Regions from separate parts of the Homo sapiens genome. Here regions 1, 2, 3, 4 and 5 are each linked to region 6. Evidence: promoter capture Hi-C in 16 types of primary human blood cells and fetal thymus (Javierre and others, 2016). All regions are on one chromosome and are shown on one strand. The core of a region is centred on a gene start or on the middle of the fragment in contact, and the rest is flanking DNA. Distances in the headings are between cores, read along the strand shown.

Evidence for each region. Contacts are between HindIII fragments. The CHiCAGO score rates a contact against its expected background, and 5 or more counts as called.
Region 1: a contact is called between a fragment that was not itself captured here and the fragment with the promoter of JARID2 in region 6, in 16 of 17 cell types (fetal thymus, naive CD4 T cells, naive CD8 T cells and 13 more). The highest score is 31.8, in fetal thymus.
Region 2: a contact is called between a fragment that was not itself captured here and the fragment with the promoter of JARID2 in region 6, in 1 of 17 cell types (fetal thymus). The highest score is 6.0, in fetal thymus.
Region 3: the fragment with the promoter of MCUR1 here is called in contact with the fragment with the promoter of JARID2 in region 6 in 2 of 17 cell types (non-activated CD4 T cells and naive CD8 T cells); the score reaches 6.1 in non-activated CD4 T cells.
Region 4: a contact is called between a fragment that was not itself captured here and the fragment with the promoter of JARID2 in region 6, in 1 of 17 cell types (naive B cells). The highest score is 5.7, in naive B cells.
Region 5: the fragment with the promoter of NOL7 here is called in contact with the fragment with the promoter of JARID2 in region 6 in 1 of 17 cell types (naive CD8 T cells); the score reaches 7.6 in naive CD8 T cells.

Annotation. Positions count from the first base shown.
Region 1 is chr6:14,206,640-14,210,516 of GRCh38, forward strand. No RefSeq gene overlaps it. Among named protein-coding and RNA genes, the nearest start is that of LINC01108, 77 kb to the right of the region's middle. RefSeq lists a silencer at 3,196-3,245. The HindIII fragment of the contact is 3,639 bases long and covers 324-3,877 here.
Region 2 is chr6:14,190,002-14,193,437 of GRCh38, forward strand. No RefSeq gene overlaps it. Among named protein-coding and RNA genes, the nearest start is that of CD83, 74 kb to the left of the region's middle. The HindIII fragment of the contact is 4,117 bases long and covers 49-3,436 here.
Region 3 is chr6:13,812,467-13,815,985 of GRCh38, forward strand. It overlaps MCUR1 (mitochondrial calcium uniporter regulator 1), which reads right to left and starts at 2,091. Exons shown (of 9, transcript NM_001031713.4): 1 at 1,549-2,091. The coding sequence starts at 1,963. LOC107986571 (a long non-coding RNA gene) reads left to right here and starts at 1,344. Exons shown (of 2, transcript XR_001743986.3): 1 at 1,344-1,623. RefSeq lists silencers at 1,279-1,948, 2,029-2,298 and an enhancer at 2,459-2,558. The HindIII fragment of the contact is 5,544 bases long and covers 1-3,519 here.
Region 4 is chr6:14,238,805-14,242,326 of GRCh38, forward strand. No RefSeq gene overlaps it. Among named protein-coding and RNA genes, the nearest start is that of LINC01108, 45 kb to the right of the region's middle. RefSeq lists an enhancer at 2,683-2,752. The HindIII fragment of the contact is 249 bases long and covers 1,504-1,752 here.
Region 5 is chr6:13,613,654-13,617,410 of GRCh38, forward strand. It overlaps NOL7 (nucleolar protein 7), which reads left to right and starts at 1,682. Exons shown (of 8, transcript NM_016167.5): 1 at 1,682-1,971; 2 at 2,059-2,119; 3 at 2,810-2,868. The coding sequence starts at 1,706. SIRT5 (sirtuin 5) reads left to right here. Exons shown (of 10, transcript NM_012241.5): 10 at 1-1,505. LOC124901263 (a long non-coding RNA gene) reads right to left here and starts at 1,549. Exons shown (of 2, transcript XR_007059461.1): 1 at 1-1,549. RefSeq lists an enhancer at 895-1,064. The HindIII fragment of the contact is 25,604 bases long and covers 1-3,757 here.
Region 6 is chr6:15,244,581-15,248,111 of GRCh38, forward strand. JARID2 (jumonji and AT-rich interaction domain containing 2) reads left to right here and starts at 1,489. Exons shown (of 18, transcript NM_004973.4): 1 at 1,489-2,004. The coding sequence starts at 1,960. It overlaps JARID2-DT (JARID2 divergent transcript), which reads right to left and starts at 794. Exons shown (of 1, transcript NR_187237.1): 1 at 1-794. JARID2-AS1 (JARID2 antisense RNA 1) reads right to left here. Exons shown (of 2, transcript NR_120502.1): 2 at 3,235-3,531. RefSeq lists enhancers at 1-117, 1,307-1,356, 1,467-1,566 and silencers at 117-426, 437-696. The HindIII fragment of the contact is 5,356 bases long and covers 1-3,531 here.

The sequences.
Region 1 (3,877 bases), core at 893-3,392, 1.0 Mb before region 6:
AAATGGGGGAAATAGTAATGCATACATCATAGGGTTCTTATGAGGAGTAACTGATAAAGCAAAGTGCTTGTCTCAAAAAATATTGGCTACTATTATTGTTAAGCTTTGTGATATGGACTATGACCCAGTTCGACCTCGTTTGTCTTTCAGATGAAAAAACTGGGCCTCAGAAATGTGATGTTCTGTTCAGCTGCCACACAGCTATAGATAATGATATTTAAAATGAGCTTCTTGGCCTCTGAAACTCAGCTCAAGGCTTTTCTACATCATACTTTGAGTACAACTTACAATGCACCACCCCCACCCCGAACTTCCCGCCACCAAGCTTGAAAAATAATTAAGTATAAAACATGATGTGTATTTTTTGAAGCATTTCTGGCATAATCTTGTTTTATATTTATTGCCTACAACTTTGGACTCTATGACACTGGATATGTGCAAGTGTGTGCTTAATAATTGTCGGCTAACCGAATGACACTAAAGTTAAAGAGGATGATTGACTAGAAGTTAACATTGTGTACAATTTGTTTTCCCAAGAACAGACATAGTTAAGAATAGCAAGTCTCTATGATGTATTTATTTATTTTTACCTTAAATGTTCTGCTATTCCTAAGAACAGCAAAGATTAAAGGAAAAAACAAAAGCCAGTGTGGTGACAGTGAAAGTGTATCCACTTGCTTGGATATTAGGATTACCCCAGATGATGCAGATAGTCTCGTGGGATTAGAGGTCAGAGAGAAGGCAGATCATATGCAGCAGCTGGACACCATATTGTTGACCACTTGGAATAAAATCCCTTCTGTCTTGCCCTTATACACAAATTTATACCAATTACTCAGGTCCAAAGTTGACTTCCGATTCTAGCCTTAACAGACAAGTGCTGAGCCTATCAAGTTTTATTGCAGTCAATACATCTCCCTTCCAGAAGCAACTGGTCACAGCCATTTCCAACAGAAAGCTGCCTGGGCCACCCTTTCTTCTTTTTATAGTTTGTTTCCAGACACTCAGTGACCCATAAAGTTAACTTATAACCAAGTCACAGCCATGACCAGAGCTGTTGTTCTTGTGTCCACCCCTAAAGTTGCCTTTTCCCAGGATGTGCACACTCAGAGGCAATGAATCATACTGTTTGTCCTTTGTGGGGTCATTCCTTTTGGTTGAACCCCAGGTCCTGGGTCCTTAACCCAGACTGTTTCCTTTAAACATTCTCCAAACTCTGGGGTTTTTAAGATTTTGTAGTTTGCCCTTATGAACGTGTATATTGCATGAACCCTGTCTTAATGGAGATGTGCCTCCTGCGTGGTGAGCTGGGGTCAAGGCGTGCTGTGGGCTTGAACCATCTGTGCAAACATAACAATGATTGAGTTGATATTTCTATTTTGATGTCCTGGTGGTGTCACTTACAACCTAATTTGTCTTCTCACCCTTCATTCCCTCTGGGGTGAGGATATATATATTGAAGAAAGGTTGATAAAGCAAGTCAGCCTGTAGGCTGAGTTGGAATTGAATTATTTAAGGAAGGCCATGAGGGCACAGGCTCCCGCAATGCTCATGTGCATGACTGTGATTACTAAGTCACCCAACCTCTTAATTTTCTGGATTTAGGTAGGTTAATAAGATTCCTTGATCAAGCTAACTAGTTATGGAACTAGTTAAAAGCAGGACCAAGGTTGGAACTAATATCTTCTCATCCCCATTGTGTTTTTCTCATTACACCATACGTGTTCCATCAACATCTTTTTTCCTCCCTGTGGCAGAGAGATTGGCTTTACAAATAGGGAGGGAGTGATGAAAGATATTTTGGTTTTAGCTTGCGACTATCTCCTATAACATAATTAAATAAATGAAGAAAGAAAACGGGTTAAATCTCATCATAGAAATATACAATGTTAGGAAATTTTGATTTATAGAATTTTAGAAATGGAAGGTACTTTAAAACAATCACCTAGCACAGTGAGTTTCCAACTGTGTTCAGTGAAACCCCAGGGTTCTGCACAGATGCCTCAAGGCCTTTAAAAGGTAGGAGAAGAGAGTATATAGGACTCAGAGCTTTCTGCCTCAGGGCCATTAAAGCAAGTCTGTCTTTATCTGTTTTATATGTTGGGGTTTTATGTTGGATTTTGTTATAAATGGGGAATCACTTCTAAGGAAAATTTGCAAGCTGTAAATCTAGGTCAAACCCCTCAATTTACAGATGAGAAAACTGAGGCCTGGAATCTTGAACCTGTGGAGTTGCCAAGTAAGACTCTTTATTCCATTCTAGGGATTAGGAAACTAAGATTCCAAGATTCAGATCTTAAAGTTTTGTAGAAAGTTATGGATTTTGTCAAGTGGCAGAGCCAGGGCTGAAGCTAGCTGTATGTTTTTTTTTCATTCCTAGTGCATGACTTTTCCCAACATATCATGTTATTTAACAATATCCAACATATGGTGATCTTACTGCTCCATGATCAAAGAAGTCAGAGAGAATGAAGGTCCTAGAGGCAGGAGTTTGAGGGAGCCGATTAAGAGAGAATAGTCCACTAGTGTGGGGGAGGTGACTATGGAAACAGGGTGATTTATTTTCATTTCCTTTCTTCACGGTTCCATTTCATTCTGCAAATTCCCTGCTGCAATGCTGTATCCCCAGTATCTAAGCCCAGGCCTGGCAATTAGAGCACAATACATATTTGTGGATTCAGACTTTCAAATGCACGTCCTTGTGACATCCTTCAAACAGTGTACTGGTCAGGAACTCAAGAGTATGGTACATTTAAAAATCAAATACTATATCAAATTTGGAGAAGCATAACCATTAAGGTAGTGTATTTCAACACTGGTAGGTGCACAAAGCCTGCTCTCTAAAAGAAGCAAGTGGCCGGGTGCGGTGGCTCATGCCTGTAATCCCAGCACTTTGGGAGACGGAGGCGGGTAGATTACTGGAGATCCGAGTTCAAGACCAGCTTGGCCAACATGGTGAAACTTCGTCTCTACTGAAAATACAAAATTAGCCAGGCATGCTGGTGGGCACCTGTAATCCCAGCTACTCGGGAGGCTGAGGCAGGAGAAGCACTTGAACCTGGGAGGCGGAGGTTGCAGTAGGCCAAGATTGCACCATTGCACTCCAACCTGAGCAAAAAGAGCGAAACTCCATCTCAAAAAAAAGGAAGTAAGGGAAGTAAGTAACTCAGCTGGCAGGGTCTGAATCAGAGTGGATCACTTTCTCTGAGCTGCCCTGGCACAGCCCAATTGTACCTATGTCTCAGGCATGGTCCCCAGTGTCAGCAGACACACTGATCCTGGTGGAGGGAAGTGCACATCGTGCAAGGCATTCCCATAAGCCACCGGACAGGTGTTCAACTGCCCTCTGGGTAGCCTGACCCTGAATGAGTTTAAATAGAAACAAATAAAACCTAGGATCAGAAGGTTCTTATATTGTACTTAAAGTGGTTAGCATTTGTAGTAGGTTATCAAAGAATATTGTACAACATCTTTCCCTAGGGAACTTTAAGAATAGGATGGCTAGATCCTGCAGTCTGAGATATTTTTGTCTCTATAATAACACCTTAGCACGGTATCACAGCTTATAGTACGTGCCTCGAGGCCAGGCATGGATTAGATACCCTTCTGAGGCCATCTGCTCCCTGGATTTGTTTCAAAGGAATGAAACACGAGGTGGAAAGGGAGAGAGATAGAGAGCTAGAGAGAGAGGAGAGAAAGAGAGACCGATCCACGGACCCTATTAACAGGGTGAAATCTGCCTAAACTAGGAAGCCAGAGGAGTAAGACCCTGATGGAAACCACGCTTGCCTGTCGGTCCTGATTTTGCCCCAGTCCTTCAATACGCCTCTCACGGTTTGTGCTACGGTCTTCTGTGCGTTCAGGGGTGGGCTGGTTT
Region 2 (3,436 bases), core at 857-3,356, 1.1 Mb before region 6:
TTTAGGGGAAAAAAGGTCTTAAAACAATTCCATTCCATTACTTTCAGAAGCTTATACCGAGTTTACAGTTTTGACAGTGTAATTGTCTGTCCCTGAGCCTATGGCCCCTTTTGCTAAAGAGCAGAAGGAAAAATCTTATCTTGACCAAAAAGTAAACAATATCAGGCAATAGTAGAAGGAAAGATAAATATTTGGGATAGATAAATGTTGGTTTGATTCAGCTAGGACCATAGCTTTGGGTTATTAAAAGAGCCTCAAGTGGATAAAATTTGGCCCTAAATTTTGTAGTGAGGTTAGCACTACCCTATGGGAAATGCAAAACACTTTTCGCTTATTTTGGTTTTGGAAAATGTCATAGGAAACACATTTAAAGTCCATTAAATGCGATTGGAGTTGACAAGATTCATTCTGGTGAAAGGCTGGGTAAAGCCAGAACTAAAAGTTTCCCATCAGCTCAGACAACCTTAGCTAGTAGTTGATAATATGTGTTAAATTAGTCAAAATGGAGACAAAACTAGTGACCCCCTTGAGAACCAAAATAGCTCCTTAATGAAAGAAATGGAGTTTAAAAATTAAATAGAATATTGGCTGATGTACATTTTGGAGATTATAAATTTGCAAAATCCCCTTATGTCGTTATTAGTTGAAGTTGAAATTGCCAAATGGGCCCCTGGAGATGTGATAGGAAGGCACATGTTGGAAGATCTGAAATCTTGCTCCCTCTCTGAAGGAAGGGTGGCTCAAGCCATGTGCAGCGTGAGCTGGAGGCTGGATAGGGTCGAGTAAACTTTGGGTTGGTTTTCTCACAGTTTTTGTTAATGCGTGTTGAGTGTTGTCTTTCTTTCTCTCCAATTTTCAGACATGGGGCCCTTGGGAGCAGTAATCCTCCAGCCAGGCTTTCTGAGAAGGTTCACATCCAAGTAAAACATGAATTTTCTGAGCCAATTTGATAGGCAATTCGTCTGAACAGAGCTCTTGTTTTGCCAACAGATAGAAATGAAGCTGAGAGTATTACAATACCCAGGGCAGGGAGAGTATTAAAGCTGTGACAGAGACTGAGGCAGGCAACTTCACATAAGCAGAGGGTAGGGAGGCGTGAGGATGGGAAACCACCTTCCCGGGAGTTGACAGGCGGCTGATGGCGGCTCTTTCATTACAACCTCACCACCAATCATTAAAGGATTTAGGAATTATAGCAAAGTGGTACTTTTATCCGTGAGATTTAGGCGCTTCTCCATGTCATCTCTTCTGTACCCCCAGCACCTAGAACATACAGTAGGCTCTCAATACTGGGTACTATTGAGTGTTGGAAAGAGCACAGGTATGGTTTAGCACAGCCCCTCCATTGCCATTTATAAGCTGAGAGGCCCTGGGTCCATTACTTAATTTCACAAAATGTTTTTCAATTTTTTTCTTCTGTAAAATGGAATTATCGTTTCTACCTAGTAGGGCTGTTTGGAGGATTAAACAATACAAAGAAGGTAAAATGCCTATCATAGTCACTCAATAAGTATTTCTTATTTTCCTGATTACAAATTAAATAAATGATTGATAATCATCAAAATGCATTTGTATAATGTGCTAGGTGCTGTCCTAAGTGGCTAGAGGTTGATACTATTGCTATCCTCACTTAATAGATGGAAAATACAGTTTTAGAGATGAAAAATAACCTAGAGGGAATGGCACATGGGACCTGTGGCTGAGAAGAGGCCCTAGGAATTCTGTGGCTGCCAGAAGTGAGACCTAGGAGTGGACGTGGGCTATTGGGCTTCCTCCTTGACCGGATCCAGGCCTTCCTTGCATCTTGGACAGTCCGTCTCACAGAATTTGGGACTGTGCAGAGTGAGAATCCAATGAGCTGCCTGAAACTGGTGCTCACCAAGAATTTATGGAAGTTTTTATTGCTATTTCCAACTGAGAACTTTTCTTCAATCATTTATGGAAAACATAAAAGCCAGTGGGAATCAACTAGGATAAAACAAGGTCAGAACCACTCTTCCAGATGCTGAGCACAGCTGGTTTTTGCTTAAGCAGTGGAAGCAAGAAAGAAGGATATCCATTGGCTATTTGGGTCAGAAACAGCACCTTAAAATATCTCCTCCATAATTCATCTCGTCCCAAATAGAATGTGGGGTCAAATTGCAGACCCTAAACCTTTTCATCCCTTCTCCTCTTCCTTCTCTTCTTCTTCCTTTTTCTTCTTCTTTTTCTTATCTCATGGGATTGGTATGAAAAATAATAAGGATTTTATTCCACAATGGAAAAAAAAATATCTCTCTGGGGTGGTAGATACCGCAATTCCAGAAACAAGCTGGAATGCACCAAGAGCTCCCTTATATGCCTAAATGCAGGCTGCTCTTCCTCTGCCTCTATTTTACAGCTGGGGGAGCCATTGCCCTGGGAACAAAGAGGAAAATGGGAACAATCCTAATTTTAATATTCATAACTCATGAGCAGTCTGAAAGTTTTTTTAATAAGTTCACGATTGTCCTTTGAACTTTTAATACTCCTTTTACCCAAGGGGCTTTGGAGGGGTTTGAGAAGAGCCAACCAGCCAAGATCACCCTCCCACTCCATGACCTGTAGATAGCACCCTGCCTGGGAACTCGACAGAGAGAAAGCATCTGTCCATCCCACACTGGCTATCTCCAGGAGTCCAGAAGAGCATGACTCTTGCTCCCAGGAACAGATCTCAGGCTGCCAGTAATCCATGTGTAACTGCAGAAAGGAACACTGGTGGGGGGTTAATACCAGATTGGCACATTCACATGTTTGGCATTCTCATATGCTGTTCATAACACAAATCCACCAATCCTCCTTTTGGGGATACACCCTGGAATGGCTGGAAGAGACAGACTGGGGCCCACTGCTCTGAAGCCTTGTATGGTGGTGGTGTGCCTGGGAGGAGGTAGCAGGCACCATCTTCCTGATAGGAAGCCACCTGGACTGATCCCAGGGTCCCTGCCTCCTGAAAGCAGGGGAGAAAACCTGGGTTTGTACTCTGATTGTCAGTGTGCCCAAGAGTCTAGAAGAGATTTCAGTGAGATGGAAGAATGATTATTTAAATGATACAAGCATTTGCTTTTAAAGTTGGAGAGAAGGAAAGCGTAGAATTTAAAATGCCCTTGAGTCTGCCCATGGGAAAGAGTTTAGGGAGTGACACTGAGGAGAACGGAAGGCTTTTAGGGGAGGACCAAAGACTATTAGAGTTCTTTTTGGGAATGGTAATGAGCTATCGAAAAAGTGATGCCTGAGAAGAAAAAGCAAGAGGGGAGCAGTCTGTGATAGAAAGGTAAATGAGTCATTTGATGAGTAGAGTGCATCTCAATCTTCAGTGTGCATTAGAGTCAGGGGAAGGCAGGAAGGTAACTATAAAGCGCCTTTCCCTAGGACCTCTTGAGGCTCCAATGCAGTGGGTCTGGGCCATGGTTTGATC
Region 3 (3,519 bases), core at 841-3,340, 1.4 Mb before region 6:
TCTTTTTGCCCTATACTCTTGCATTGAGAGAAAAACAAATTGGAAATTACTAGCTTGTCAGAAAAAGCGCAACAAAAGGCAAAATACAGAATAAAGACCAAACTCATCTCCGACTCCTAATTACTGAAGGACAGTGACACCGAGTTCACTACTCATTCCCCACTCTCTGTATATAAAGTTTCCTTCACTTTATTGCTCTACTAATCAGTTTTTACCCCAGCCAATGATATTCTTAAATTATAGATATGGTCAACATTTAGTGGGCCTATCTGTTGAAGAAAATATGAAAAATGTGTAGTTAGTGATGGCTACTAATGAATATGTATAGACTGCCCAAAGTGATAATTTTGCCAAGTCTGTTGATTATCAGAAATGATTTTTTTCTTTAATCAACAATATGCTATCTAATAAATTGATTCTATTTACTTTCCTCATCTCCAGGGCAGTGATCTCTCTCACCTCCTTTAAATAGTCATGAGCCCCACAACTACCTTTCAGCCCAGGACAGAGGGGCACACACGACAGTGGTCTATGAGACTATAATACATATTTTTACTCTACCTTTTCTACATTTAGATGCGCAAATACCATTGTGTTCAGATTGCCTCTAGTATTCAGTACGGTAACATGCTGTTCAGGTTTGTAGCCTAGGAGCACTAGCCTCTACCTGATAGTCTAGGTGTGTAGTAGGCTGTAGCATCCAGGTTTGTGTAAGCACACTCTACAATATTCACACAAGGAAGAAGTCGCCTAATGACTCATTTCTCAGTAGGCGACTGTCCTGAAGAGATGCATGACTCTAATTAAATGCTACCTTCTCAATGAAATCGATTCTGATCACCCTATTTAAATTCACAACTGGAGACCCATTCCACTTCCCAAGCCTTATCCTATTTTTCTATACCAGGCATCGAATTACGAATATATAAAAATTATTTGTATATATAAATTATATATACATCAATTATGCATACGTATATCCACACACACATATTTACTGCGTCTGCTCTGCTAGAATTAAGCTCCAGAGGGAAGATTTTGTGGACTGATATATCTCACACATCTAGAAAAGCGCCAGGGACAGGGCAGACGCTAGGACTCCACGAATTAATGATTCCATCAGAATTTGAAATCAAACTGTAAAGCAATCCCTTCATTTCCCAGAGCTTTGCTGCTCAAACATACACACCCCTTCCCCTTGAACGCCCAACAGGCTGGGCGCTGCCAAACAGAACTCCTGGAAGGCGGCGCCCAAAAGCAGACCCTAGGAGTGGGCGGGCACCAACTCCCCGCCCCAGCACGCACCTCCCTCCAACTTTAGCGCCCGGGATTCCCAGGAATTCGTCTCTTCTGGGCTAAGCCCCGCCACCGCGGCCGAGCAGGGCGGGCCCGGACCTTCGACCCACGCTCCGGGCAGATGCCGGTGGCCTTGGAGGACCCGCCCTCCGGCCTGCCGGGCCTTTCCTCGGGGAGGCTGTAGCTGAGATCCCCGCCCCGCCGTCCAACCCCGCGAGACGAGCCCCCTCTCCTCTCCCGCCCGGGCCTCACCTCTCCTGCAGGAAACGAGTGCAGGCGCCGGGCCGTGGTACTGGGGAAGGGCGCCGGCGGCAGCGGCGACGCCCGGTGAGCACCTCCACGCGCTGCTGCGCCCGGCCGGGGGTGCGGCATACCCGAGGCGCGAGCGCTCCCAGTCCCCGAGCTGCCGGCGCGGGGCTGCGGCGGCCAAGCGCGGGGAGGGCACTAGCAGGAGGAGGAGCAGCGGTGAGGCACGTGACACGCCGCCGCGGGCCGCCGGGGCGCGAGGGCGCAGCGCCCCCAGACCGTCGGAGAGCGCAGAGAGGCAGCGGCGTGCTGAGGTTTCGCTGCCGCCCGGTCTTCCGCTGAGGCCCACGGGCAAGAAGAGAAGCCGCTGGCGGCCGGGCAGGCGCTGGGTCCTCTGGCCGCCGACCGAGCCGCAGTCCATCCCCGAGCAGTTCACTGGCCCGGGCGCGCGCTCATGCCTCTCGCTTTTGGCGCCGGCCACGCGCGGTCCAGGCCCAGAGTCCGACAGCGGGAGCGAGCGTGGGCCACAGCGCAGGACCGCCCTTTCCTGCCGGGCGCGCGGGCGGGGCTCGGGACGCGCGCCGGGGGTGGGGTGGGGCGGGGCGGCAGGAGCCCGCCGTGGCGCTCCGAGATGCGGGGACCGTGCGAGCCCCCACCCCATTCGCTAGGCGACGGCGGCGACCGGGAGGAGCCTGCGGGCACTCCGGAACTGGAAGGAGCTTGTTGCTGTCACGATTTGCATTTTCACTGCACTGCTGTCCTTAAAAAGGAATTACCCCGGTGCCCTTCAGAGTCCTGTGAAAAGTCTCAGACCGACAGGCTGCCCTAGATTTCACTGATTATCCTAAGTCCCCAAACATGTGGTTCTGGGGAGCATTTTAAGGAATTATTAGCAGGGCCCAGGGAAAGGCCCTCACATAATACATTCAAAACTAAATTTTCAGAGTTTTTGTTTCCAGATTAGAGCACCAAAAACATGGGAAGGTAGCAATCTGGGAACTTAAAACGTGGGGCATGAATGTTAAAATGAGACCTGTCGGGTATATTTGAAACTGGTAATGTTTAGTTTCGTGGACTTTTTGAAGGCCTGTTACACCATTCACAGATAACTGGTCCCTTATGTGAATTTGGAAGATGTTAGTTGAATAAATAAATGAAATGCATAAGGCACCAAGCTAGGAGATTTTATTAAAAATAAAAAACCGCAAAACAAATTGTTCTTATCCTCCAGAAGCTGTTTTCCTATACAGCCATATGTGTACACATACGTGATGGAAGAATGTGTTATGAGCCATGAGAGATGTACAAAGTGCTGGGAAGAGAGGAGCGTGCATATGGATGTGCAAGATAAGTGTCTATCAAAATTTGAAGAACTGAAAAACAGGATTCAAGTCATAGGTTGGTGCAAAAGTAGTTGCGGCTTTTGCCATTGCAAGTAATGGCAAAAACCGCAATTACTTTTGCACCAACCTAAGACACTTTTGTAAAAGGAGTATACATTTATAAAATTGGTAGAAAAAGCAGTTTAGCAATGAGTATCAACAAAAATTTGTAAACTTTTCTCAAGTCACCTAACTAAAAATGGGGATAATGGGAATAATCCAAAATATTAAATATCTACTAGGTTTGACTATACAAACTTGTCATTTTTATGGGTCAAAATGCTTAATATTGGTAATTTCACATATGCACAAAAGATAGTCATTGTATCATAATTTGTGATTGTGAAAAAATGGGAAAATAGTGCACAACATTAGAGGAACGATTAAACTGTGGCACAAACTTTAATGTTAGTCCTTTGTAATTTTTAAAAATTGAGGTATAATTTGCATACAGTAAATTCCACAGACTTAGGTGACATTTAGCAGTTGATAAATGTCATTTAGCAACTTGATGACATTTAGCAGTTGTATATACCACCCAGTCAAGATCTAGAACATTTTCATTGCTCCAGAAAGTTATTTTGTGCCAGTTTTC
Region 4 (3,522 bases), core at 378-2,877, 1.0 Mb before region 6:
TTCTTTTCTATATCCCAGCTAGCATTTTCAAGAAATTTCAGAATTAAGTCAGCAAGAGAAAAGAGAGATAGCTATCTTTATTTTTTTCGATCTTATTCCAGGTTAGAGACTCAATTGTTTCTTAAAATAAAATACAAACTTATCTTTTGTTTTCAGCAAAGGGACACTTACATGAGATACGTAGATTAAAAGATTTTCATTGCTCCTATATGTTGCGTTTAGGCCAATTTTGTTACTGAGGGAAAGTATTGAACTAGTTCTTCCTGTTGCCATACCCGGCTCTAATTTCCAACTGCAGCTTCTTCATATAATTATTTTAACCTGATTTTTTTTTTACCTGAAATTGAAATATTAAGCAAAGATACCACAAACAAAGTCAAAAGCAAACAACTAGGAAGAATATCTGCAGCATATATTATGGACAAAATATTAGTATCGAGTTAGTAAGGTAAAGACAAATACACCAATATAGAAATGGGCAAAGAATATGAATAGGCAATTCACAGAAGAAATGCAAATATTCAGTCCATAATTAAAAGTTGCTCTATTTCGTTAGTAATCAAAGAAGTGGAAATGTAAAATGTAATGAGATTTTTTTTTTACCTATCAGACTGACAAGATTAAAATGAATAAAAATGGCTAGTATTAGTGTGGAATTAGGAAATGGAATTCTCAAGAAGTAGTTGAAAGGAACATAAACCTCATGTAGCATTTTAACAACGTTCATTGAGAGCTTTCAAATGTTAGTACTTAATGATACAATTTTACTTTAGAAATACATTTGTAAGAAAAAAATCTGACAATTGTGCAGAGTTAATATGTAAAAGGTCTGACACAAAAGAACTCTGAAGGATCATAAATCTCTGTGGTTAAGAGAGTAGACAAATATATTGCTTAACATCCATAAAAGAGAGTGCTATATATTCATTAAAAAGGAAGAAGTGGAGGCATATCTCTAAAATATACATTTAAGAGAAAAAACAGATGCCAAAAATGGTATGGTCTGGTATGATATATCTTTATTTTATAAGAAAAACAGAAAAAAATGGCTGAGAATAAGAGTACATTTATTTGCTAGTATATATACTTCTGTACTATTTGATATTTTAACAGTATGTCCTACTTTTATAATAGAAGACAAAAGCATTTCTACCTTGGAAAAAAGTATTGGGAAACTGTTGTGTTTCTGTGTGTGTGTGTGTGTGTGTGTGTGTGTGTGTGTGTCTGTGCGCACACATATCACAGGCAAATAAAGGAATCAATGTTTGCAAGGCAGAAAAGTACCATGATGTCCATGATGTCCAAGAATACATGGAAATGATGGGTACAGAAGAATGTAGAGGACTGTTAATGGCCATAAGAGCTCAGGAACTTAAAAGCTAGTGTCGGATGGTTCATACACAGAGAACTCGTAGCCGAGTCCTTAATGTATACTGAGGAATGACTTGGAGGTTGACAAAGAAGGTATAGGCAATAGCATTCCCAAATACTTGAAGTTTCGAAAGCTTCAGGGGATGCCTGCTTGCTATGGAGACCATCCCTTTCTTCATATTAGAGCCTCTGTCAATACAGAAGTTCACACCACAAGTTTTTCAGAATATAGTAACCAAGGCTTTCTGTTAACTCAAACTTGCCTTGGCCAATCAGTCTTCTTCATTTCTCCCTCCTATACCATCAGCCCTATATCTCTAATGTCCTTCAGGTCATCTCATCTCGGATATCCCACCAAAATGCCAAACATAACATGGATAAAGCTTATCAACATCCTCTCCAAACAAACGATCCTTTCCCACTTATCTCTCATTACATTCTCCTTATCTGCTTGGTCCGTGCTGTCCATTGTGGGGGCTACCAGCCACGTGTGGTTTTTGGGCACTTGGAATGTGGCTAGTCTGCATGGAGGTATGCTATAAGCAAAAAATAAACCCCAGATTTGGAAGACTTAATATGAAAAAAAGAATGTAAAATATAACATTAAATGATGATATTTTGGATATATTGTGTTAAATAAAATATATTATTGATATAATTTTATTTCTTTCTTTTACCTTTTAAATAGGGGTACCAGAAAGCTCATAATTACATATGTGGATTGCATAATTACATATGTGGATTGCATATTCCATTATAGTCATGTGAAGGCTACTCTAGACTGTGCAACCATGAGGTTATCCTTTTCCTGTTCTTGGGGTTTCATATGAAATCAATCAACAGGTGGTGACACCACCTCCTGGTCTTTTATCTGTCCTCTTCATGTCCTGACCACTGGGCTGGATAAGTCCTCTGCTTTGTAACAGCACCGACTGTACCTGGCTGCTTCCATCTCCTTTCCACTCCAGTCTCAACTCAGCTGCCAATGAGCAAACTCGATAACCTGAATAACTGAGAGCCAACCCCATTCAAACGCCCCTTGAGATAAAGAAGAAAACAAATAACCAAATAAACTCCCTGAATAACTGCACTGTATATAAAGAACCAATGTGCTAGAAACTGAGGAACCAGCCATTCACTTAATTTTATAGGCTACCCTTAATATCAACAAACGCCTCTCACCAACAAATGAAATACTCCTTAAGAAAGAAACAGGATGCCCTTTATAAGCACAGGTGGAAGGAAATGCAGCCTCTGACCGTCCAAACCACAAACAGACACACACAAATTCTCTTTGCAGTTTTGTTTCAGTTCAATCTTAAAGACATTCAGGGTCCTGGCCTCCTTTTGAGAAGGGTTAGGTATAGCATAAGCACAGTTCTGGTCCTGGACTCTCAGCTTTGGGGATCATGACTTGACAAAAAATTTCCATAAAGTCCAAATTCTTCCTCATGCAGCGAAATAGCCAATGGTAAGAAGGTAACAATGGAAATAGCCATTCAATAGATTAGATCTTGGAGATGACTAGGAATGACTGAAGGTAAAGATAATCTTTATCAATTTTAATTCTCTTCATCCATTCCTGCCTGTCCCATGGCAGCATCCAGCAGATGTGAGGGGCACACGTGGGCTCAAGCAGAGGCTGGACACCCTTTGCAAGACAGAGCACCTCCTCTCCAGCCAGCACTGCTTCACTTCTTCTGAAGGGTTGACCAGTCGTCCTGCAGCCCTGCCCTGCTGCTTAAGTAGAGGCTAAAAGTTGGTATAGTCTGTGCAAAGAACCTACACACAGGAGCCTCTAGTTCCTGGTGGAAACACTGACCTATGACCACTTCAGAAAGAAAGACAAGCCTCTCAACCAGGCTATCAGGAATGATTCTCTGTTGGGTCCCCAACTGATGACTATAGAATAACAAGATCATTTTGATAGGTTATAAATCCAAACTGATCTCATTTTCATTTTCAGACTCACACCTCATAAATGTGTCCTTCTTGACTGGTTGAACGTGCCAATTTGGAGAGCAAGGTTGTCACCGTGGCAGTAGATCTTCTTTCTAATCATAAATACCAAGTGCATTTAGCACCATGCAGAACTCCAGAAGAGAATGTCAATGGATTCCCTTTGCTGTATCCTTAACATGAATTTCTGCA
Region 5 (3,757 bases), core at 432-2,931, 1.6 Mb before region 6:
GGGCGGCTGGAGAACCAGTCAGGGACCCTGAGGGCTCGATGTACACTTTACATGGGTGGGCCAAGGAGTTTACACTGAGGGCACTGGTAATACCTGTAATAGTCTTATAGTACTTATAAAGCAGTTTTGCACATAAAATACCATCATGCACTTATAAGTTTGTTCTTGGGCTGCTCCAAGTTAACTTTATTCATTTTCCTAGTGTTAGTGTCTCAGGGAGTCTGATTATATTTTTGATTTGTAATTTCTATCTGACTAAGGCCTAGAGATTTCAAAACTGTTCTTTGCAATTCCTCTCATACTGAACCTCTGGTTCAGCAGCTTTTTTTGTTGTTGTTGTTTTCAAGTTTTATCATTTTTGTTCCTATTTGGTTTTGTCGTTTTTAAATTGAGAATTGCTTCTAAAACAGAAGACATGAAAAGAGAATTAAAAATACAATATATGTGTAAGATAGAATTATTCAACTTAGCATTTATTAAACATCTACCAGATGATAGACATTAGAAATAAAATGACTAGCAAGACCTGGCCCTTCCCCTCAGGGGTTCACAGAATGGCTGGAGCAACTGTCATATAAGCTGTTATGAAGTGCAGAAACTACACAGACATTTGTGCGGGTTCAGACCAGCGCAATTAGAGATGGGCAGAGTGGGATGGGGTAGGGGTAAGGTGCTTGAAATTTGCCTGGGTGGGAATTTTTGAAGTATAAAAAGGACTTCTACCTGGGGGGCTGCGGCAGTAGAGGGAAGAGCACGGTCGGTACAAATGCATGGCAGGTGTGAAACAGTTTGATTTGTTCAAAGAATGATGAATCACTTAGTGTTGTATAATGGATGGGAGGAGAGAAACACAGCGATCACAAAGGGCCATGTTTGCCAAGAAATAAAATATACTTGGAAAAAAAGTACGTATGTGTATATACCACAAAACTCGGGTGCATTCTCTAGGGACCGGCGAAGCCATTCTTTCAGGAGATATGCTCAGCATTTGCCACGGGCCAGCTGCTGTTCCAGGTCGTGGGTTAGGGCCCGGCACCAGGAAGGGCGCCCCTCCCACAGGGCCGACATCCTAACCGGCGTCGCTGCGGCCGCGGAGCTGGGAAGGCCGAGGGCGCCGGGCACGTCTGTGCAGATTTCTTTAGAGTCCAGGTCTGTCGCCCGCGTCTTCGTCGGTGGCAGCAGGGCTGACTGGCCACGGCGGCCATCTGCTAGAGCGCATTTCTTCCCATGAAACGCCACCTCCTCCGAAGTGCGGAGCGAACGCAGCCAAATCTACACAAAGACTGACAAGCTGGATCCACTCGACGGAACCCAGGGCCAAAAAACGGCGGCGAGCAGCGCCTCGGGCCCGCGATTACCGGTTTTCTGAGCACCGGACAGCGTGAGCCGTGCCAGCCCTGTCTCGCCATCCCAGCCGAGGAGGGCAGCGCGATGGCTCTTCCCTGCCTTGAAATCAACCCCATTGCCAGCCGCTTTCGCCGGCAGAGCATTTTCCGTGGGGTCCATCCGGCTCCAAGGCGGCCTGCGCTGGCCACGTGGAAAGAAACACGCCCACTGCCTACAGGCCACGCCCTTCCTCCCTTCGCGCATGCGCCCCACCCGTCCTGAGGACCTCCGAACCTGCAGGGGGCGATGAAAGTAGGCTTGCGCTCCGCTTGTAGCTGCTTCCGGGTCAGAGGTCAGACGGTCTAGCGCTGCGTGGGCCATGGTGCAGCTCCGACCGCGAGCGTCTCGCGCCCCGGCGTCGGCGGAGGCGATGGTGGACGAGGGCCAGCTGGCCTCGGAGGAGGAGGAGGCGGAGCACGGGCTGTTGCTCGGGCAGCCCAGCAGCGGCGCGGCCGCCGAGCCCCTGGAGGAAGACGAGGAAGGGGACGATGAGTTTGACGATGAGGCCCCGGAGGAGCTGACTTTCGCCAGCGCCCAGGCGGAAGCGAGAGAAGAGGAGCGGCGAGTGCGGGAGACCGTGCGCAGGTTCGGAGCCCGCTGCCCGGCGGGGAGAACCGCCCTTTCTCGTCCCGCTTGTCCTTCCCTTTGCTGACTTATCACCCTTCCTCCCAGGGATAAAACGCTCCTGAAGGAGAAGAGGAAGCGACGCGAGGAGCTGTTCATCGAACAGAAGGTTAGAGGCTAGGGAGGAGGTGTCTTATTAAAACAACTCGGCTCAGGGAGAATTCCTATGGTGGATGTAATTTGGGTTGGCAGGATATTGGAGTGGGGAAACAGTCACCAAGATTGCCTCTGACAGTGGTGGAAAGATGCTCGGGCCGGGCGCGGCAGTACTTTAGTTGGACGAGGTGGGCGGAGCCCGGGATGTCGAGGCTGCCTGGAGCCGAGATCACACCACTGCGCTCCAGCCTGGGCGACAGAGCGAGACCCTGTCTCAAAAAAAAAAAGTTCGTCTCCTTTAGTGTCCACCAACTGAAAATAAGAGGTTGCTGTGAGAATTAAATGAGGTGATTTGTAAACTGTAAGGGCTGTACAGACTTAGTGTATGGTTGCTTTGCTGTCTGATACTCGACACAGAGAGCTGGCTCCAGGCAGACATTACTTAACTGCTTTCAATTTATAACAGTGACCTGAGGGTTAGAATACCGTGGGCACCCTTTCTAGTTTTCATCAAGTCTTTCAGAGAATGTGGAGTTTTGTGGACCCGGTCTTCCCATAGCTTAGAGGTATGGGGGCAGTTTCCAGCCTAATTCATTTCTTTGCCTAGATGTAGGGCATTCTTAAAAGCGGTAACTTCAGAAGCAACTCCGGACATACTATGTACATGACTTTCTATTAATTTTAAACGTTTTCATTCCAAAAGAAAAGAAAACTCCTTCCAGACACTATTTTGGAGAAGTTAACCACAGCTTCACAGACTAAGTAAGTAATGGATCTTTTTATATTACTTGCTTATATACACCCATCTTTGAATTATATACTGGTACATTTATTTGAATCCATATAACTGAAGGAATTGTAGAACCCAAATTCAAAAGCTACCTTGGTATATGAATTTGATGGGAAAGACGGAGGTAACGTTCTACTTCTTATTTTACCATTTATTTTTGTTCATTCCCATAGCTAGCTTTTGAATTCCTGATCCCATTGTGTTCATTCAGTACATTTTGTTGACTGCCTGTCATTGTACTAGGGCATAGTGGGTGGTGGTGAATAAAAAGTGTTTTGAATCATTTAGTGGGGTAGCAGGCACTTATCCACAGGCTCTGAAAACTTGATTTGTCCCATACTTGCCTTACCTGCCACCAACCTGTCCTTCCTGTTCCCCACTTCATTTAGCATCTTTGGTGTTTTATGGTTTAAAGCGAAAAGCTATAGTCGTCTTTGGGAATTGATCAAACCCTACTAAATTTAGCCTTCTAAATTTTTTTTTTTCTATCCTCTTTTTCTCCCCTTAAGGCTTTAAATTCAGAAATTCAGCCCCCTTTTGCTTAGGCCAGTGACTCTCAAGTTTTCAGTAAAAAAACTTTACCAAAGAGTTACTCAGATCCTGAATACATTAAACGTAAGAGCAAATCTATTTGGTGGCAAATTCCCTTTCATCTTTTAAAACCAAGCTCAAGTGTCACCTTTACCTTCTCATTTGCCCCCCCCCACCTCCCATCACTTCCGCTTTTGTGTGGCCTTTCTCCTGTGCAAATGCTTCTGTATTGTATTCTGTCCATTTACATTTCTCTCTCCATTGGGCCACAGCCCCCTTGAGGCTGTTCCCTGTCTCCTGTGCCTAAACTATTAAATTAATCCTTTGTGA
Region 6 (3,531 bases), core at 239-2,738:
TGCGGCTCGGTCTCCATATTCCACTCATTTTTGTCTCAACATTTTGTGGTATTTTATCACAAAATACGCCCGGCAAAGCAAAGATCCCGTTCAGTCTCTTTAAACACGGCTATCTTTTCTCAGGAGGCAGCCGCCGGGGCTTCACTCCTGGGCCACCAGCGACGTCCTCCAAGCGGGTCGAGCGGAGGCGCGTTCGCGACCCAGGGGCAGCGTGCCGAGCCCGGGCGTGGGGGGGCGTGGCCTTTCCACTCGGCGACCCCCGGCCACCGCCCACCCCGCGCGTGGGGGCGTGCGCGACTGCGGGGCGCGGAGAGGGGTGACCTCGGACTACCCTAGGCGCCCGCAGCACGCTCTGTACACAGACGCGAGGCGCTGTCCTGAGGTGACACCGGCTGCACGGCACAAGCAGCAGGCGCCGCCGATCAACTAGTTCGCACCGAGGATTCCTCTTGGTGCGTGGCCCAGTTTTCCTTAGGACGGGCTCCAACCCCTCCCTGACACCGCCCCCCTCACCGCCACGCTCCGAGGCCTTCCCCGGGGAAGCCTCGCGTCCCTCCCCCGCGGCTCCGGGCCGCACGCGCGCGATTCCTCGATTCCACAGGCGGTTCGCGCCGCGGGTGGGGGCGGGGCGCGCGGGGAGGGGGCTGGCGGCCGCCAGGGGAGGGGGGCCGGGGCCCGGGGGGCGGAGGAGGGCCGGCGTGGGGAGTTCCTCGCTCGCGGACCACACGCTCCGCGGGCCAATCCCGAGCCAGCCTCTAGCAGTGTCGCACGCGGGACACGTCCAAGCGTTTGTTGGCACGGCCAGTGAGGGGGAGGGGGCGAGGAGGAGGGAGGGGAGTTGAGTGACAGGCTTTGCGGGGCAGGCTGGGAATTGTAGTTCCCAGCTTCCGTGGCCATAGCCATTTTGTAGTCGGGGGACTACAACTTCCAGAAGATCAAGGGGACCATTCTAAGGTGCCCCGGGAATAGGCGGCTCTCCCCGGGGCCGGGCGTCCTGGGGCACTCCTACCCAGCAGCCCGGCTGCAGGTAGACGCGAAGGCAGTGGCGGGGGCTGGCGTGGGGCGGCCGTGGGGTGAGCGGCAGGCAGGGGAAAGGGGGTGAGGTGGAGCGACGGAGCGTGCCATGCATTGAGCTAGGGAGCCTCTCTCAATTCCACGCCTGGGCTCGGCGTGGGAGCGACGCCCGAGGGCTTGCCTGGGAGGGGTTCGTCGAGGTCGCTCGGGTGTCTGGTTGGCCAGGCTGCGGGGGTGCCCTGGACTGGGCCAGGGGCGGTCGGCACCAGGCTAAGCGGGCGCCTGGCGGCTGAGCGGTGGGAGTTTTCGGCTGGCGCCCGGCGGGGAATTATCCGAGGAGCCCTAACTTGTATAAAAGCAGAGTCCATTTAAAGTTGGGCTGGATAGCCTCTCTCTCATTGGTTAGGGGGCTTGGAAAAAAGAGACTCGGCGAGCCCTCGCTGTGGTGCTGCCGCCGCCGCCGCCGCCGCCGCTGGAGTTGACTCTTCTGCTCGCACTGCTGCTGCAGCACAAACGTGACTTCCAACATTTTTTATTTATCTTTCCCTTTTCTTTTCCAAGATGTAACTACGGATCAGACACTAAGGACCTTCACGTTTCGCTGATGTAGTTTTTGGAGGAAAAAGGGGGGGGAGTGAAGGGCGTCGGTTTTTTTTTGTGTGTGTGTGTATGTGTTTCGGGGGAAATTTTCCATTATGAGTGTTTTACTAAAGTGAATTTTTTTTTGTTTGCTTCGTTCGTCTTTGGCTCTTTTTTTTTCCTTCCCAATTTCGGATTTATTTCAAGGCGAATCTGGCTTTGGGGGAAGAGGAAGAAAAGTCGGATTACAAGATCAACCACCACCAACAACAATAAAAACCACCAGGATATTTTTTTGCAAATTTCTGACGGCTTTAAATTCATGAAGCAATTGTCCCCTTTTGCAATCAGCATTTGGATCTCAGAATGAGCAAGGAAAGACCCAAGAGGAATATCATTCAGAAGAAATACGTAAGTGCTCCTAACAACACATCCTTTGACTTGCAGTTTTAAGCAATGGCTGTGAATGTCAAGTTTATAGATAATTCTGCCTCTGAAGGGTTTTAAACACAGCGTCCGATAAGGCTGTTTCTTTTTTTTCTGAAAGAGGGCTTTTCAAGCAAAGTGGTGTCTGCCTAGTTTGGTTGAAAAAACAGACTGGTGTAGAGATACCTCAAGTGAATAAATTGACCTCGAATGACACAACCATAATCTACTTTTAGATGAAAGGCAAGGGATTTTGGTGGAGCTTGAGGTGGGGGGTGGCTGCGGTAATGTAACTAAACTGCATTCTCAAGCGGATTTGGCCCCGTATTGCACTTTGCATGCAAATGAGCCTGTGTTATTATTATTAATGTTATTTGGAAAAATCGTGTAACGCATGTGTGTTGGAAGCCCTTTAAGTTGCGATCGAGGGTCCGATTATGGCGATCTTCTCTTTGCACTGGCACATCAAATTTAATGTCTGTGGTCGTTTTGGCTTATCTGGTTTGCAACATAAACCAGTTGGGAATCATGTTACAGCGAATGCATTTGTTGGGATTGACTTTAATAATGAGGCTGGTTTTGTTTAAAAAATTCATGGTTTCCAGTTGTAGGGGAAAAGGACACACACTATGGCTAATGTTTTTAAGTGTGTACGTGAATGCATATGTAAGTAACTACAAATAATTTCTCCCTGTTAACTGGGCTTCTGAAATTGGGTGATTATTCCTAGATTTAAATGGCTTGGAATAGTTAAATTTGTTTTGTGCATAGTACAGCTACGTTTTGATTGGCATGGGGAGTGTTTTTGTTTTGTGTGTGGTGGCTTTTTTTTTTTTTTAAGTTTGAGGGGAGGGAGGAAAGGGGGACCGAGGGATTAACCAAATATGCACTCGAGTGATCTGTGATTAGCTGCATGCTTTAAATTAAATAACTCTTTTTTTTTTTCAAAAAAGGCCAAATGAACATACCTTAGGAATAATGCAACGTAAGAGGAAAGTTTATTTAAGTTGGGTAGACAAATTGGTGTTAATATTTTCCCTTTTTGATCATTGTGGTGTGTGTAATGAGAGATGACCTTCGGGGCACTGGTTTTGTAAAAAAATATATTTAATGGAAAAGCTGAATGCCTCTTCAAGAGAGCTGATCCTTATCTAGACACGTCAACTTCAACTATGAAAGAAATGCAAGGTTAAATAATCAAGCCCAACTTAGAAAGCTGTTCCATAAAGAATTTAAGAATTAAAATACATCCGCATTGCAGAGGGCTGGGTAGAATGCAAAGGACTAGTTTAAACTCGGGCTGTAGAAACTGCACTGAGGCAACCTTGTCTTGGAGCGTGGACGCCTTCCCGGGGCACGTCCGTTTCGGATGCAGCCACAAAGCAAATGGGGTAGAACTTGGACGAGAACCGCACCCCGCCTCCCATTCCGGACCTCGTTGAGGTGGAGAGCAGCGTGGGGTGGGTTTTCTTTCTTATTGCGGGCGTTCAGCGGATCGTGTCTCCGAGTCCG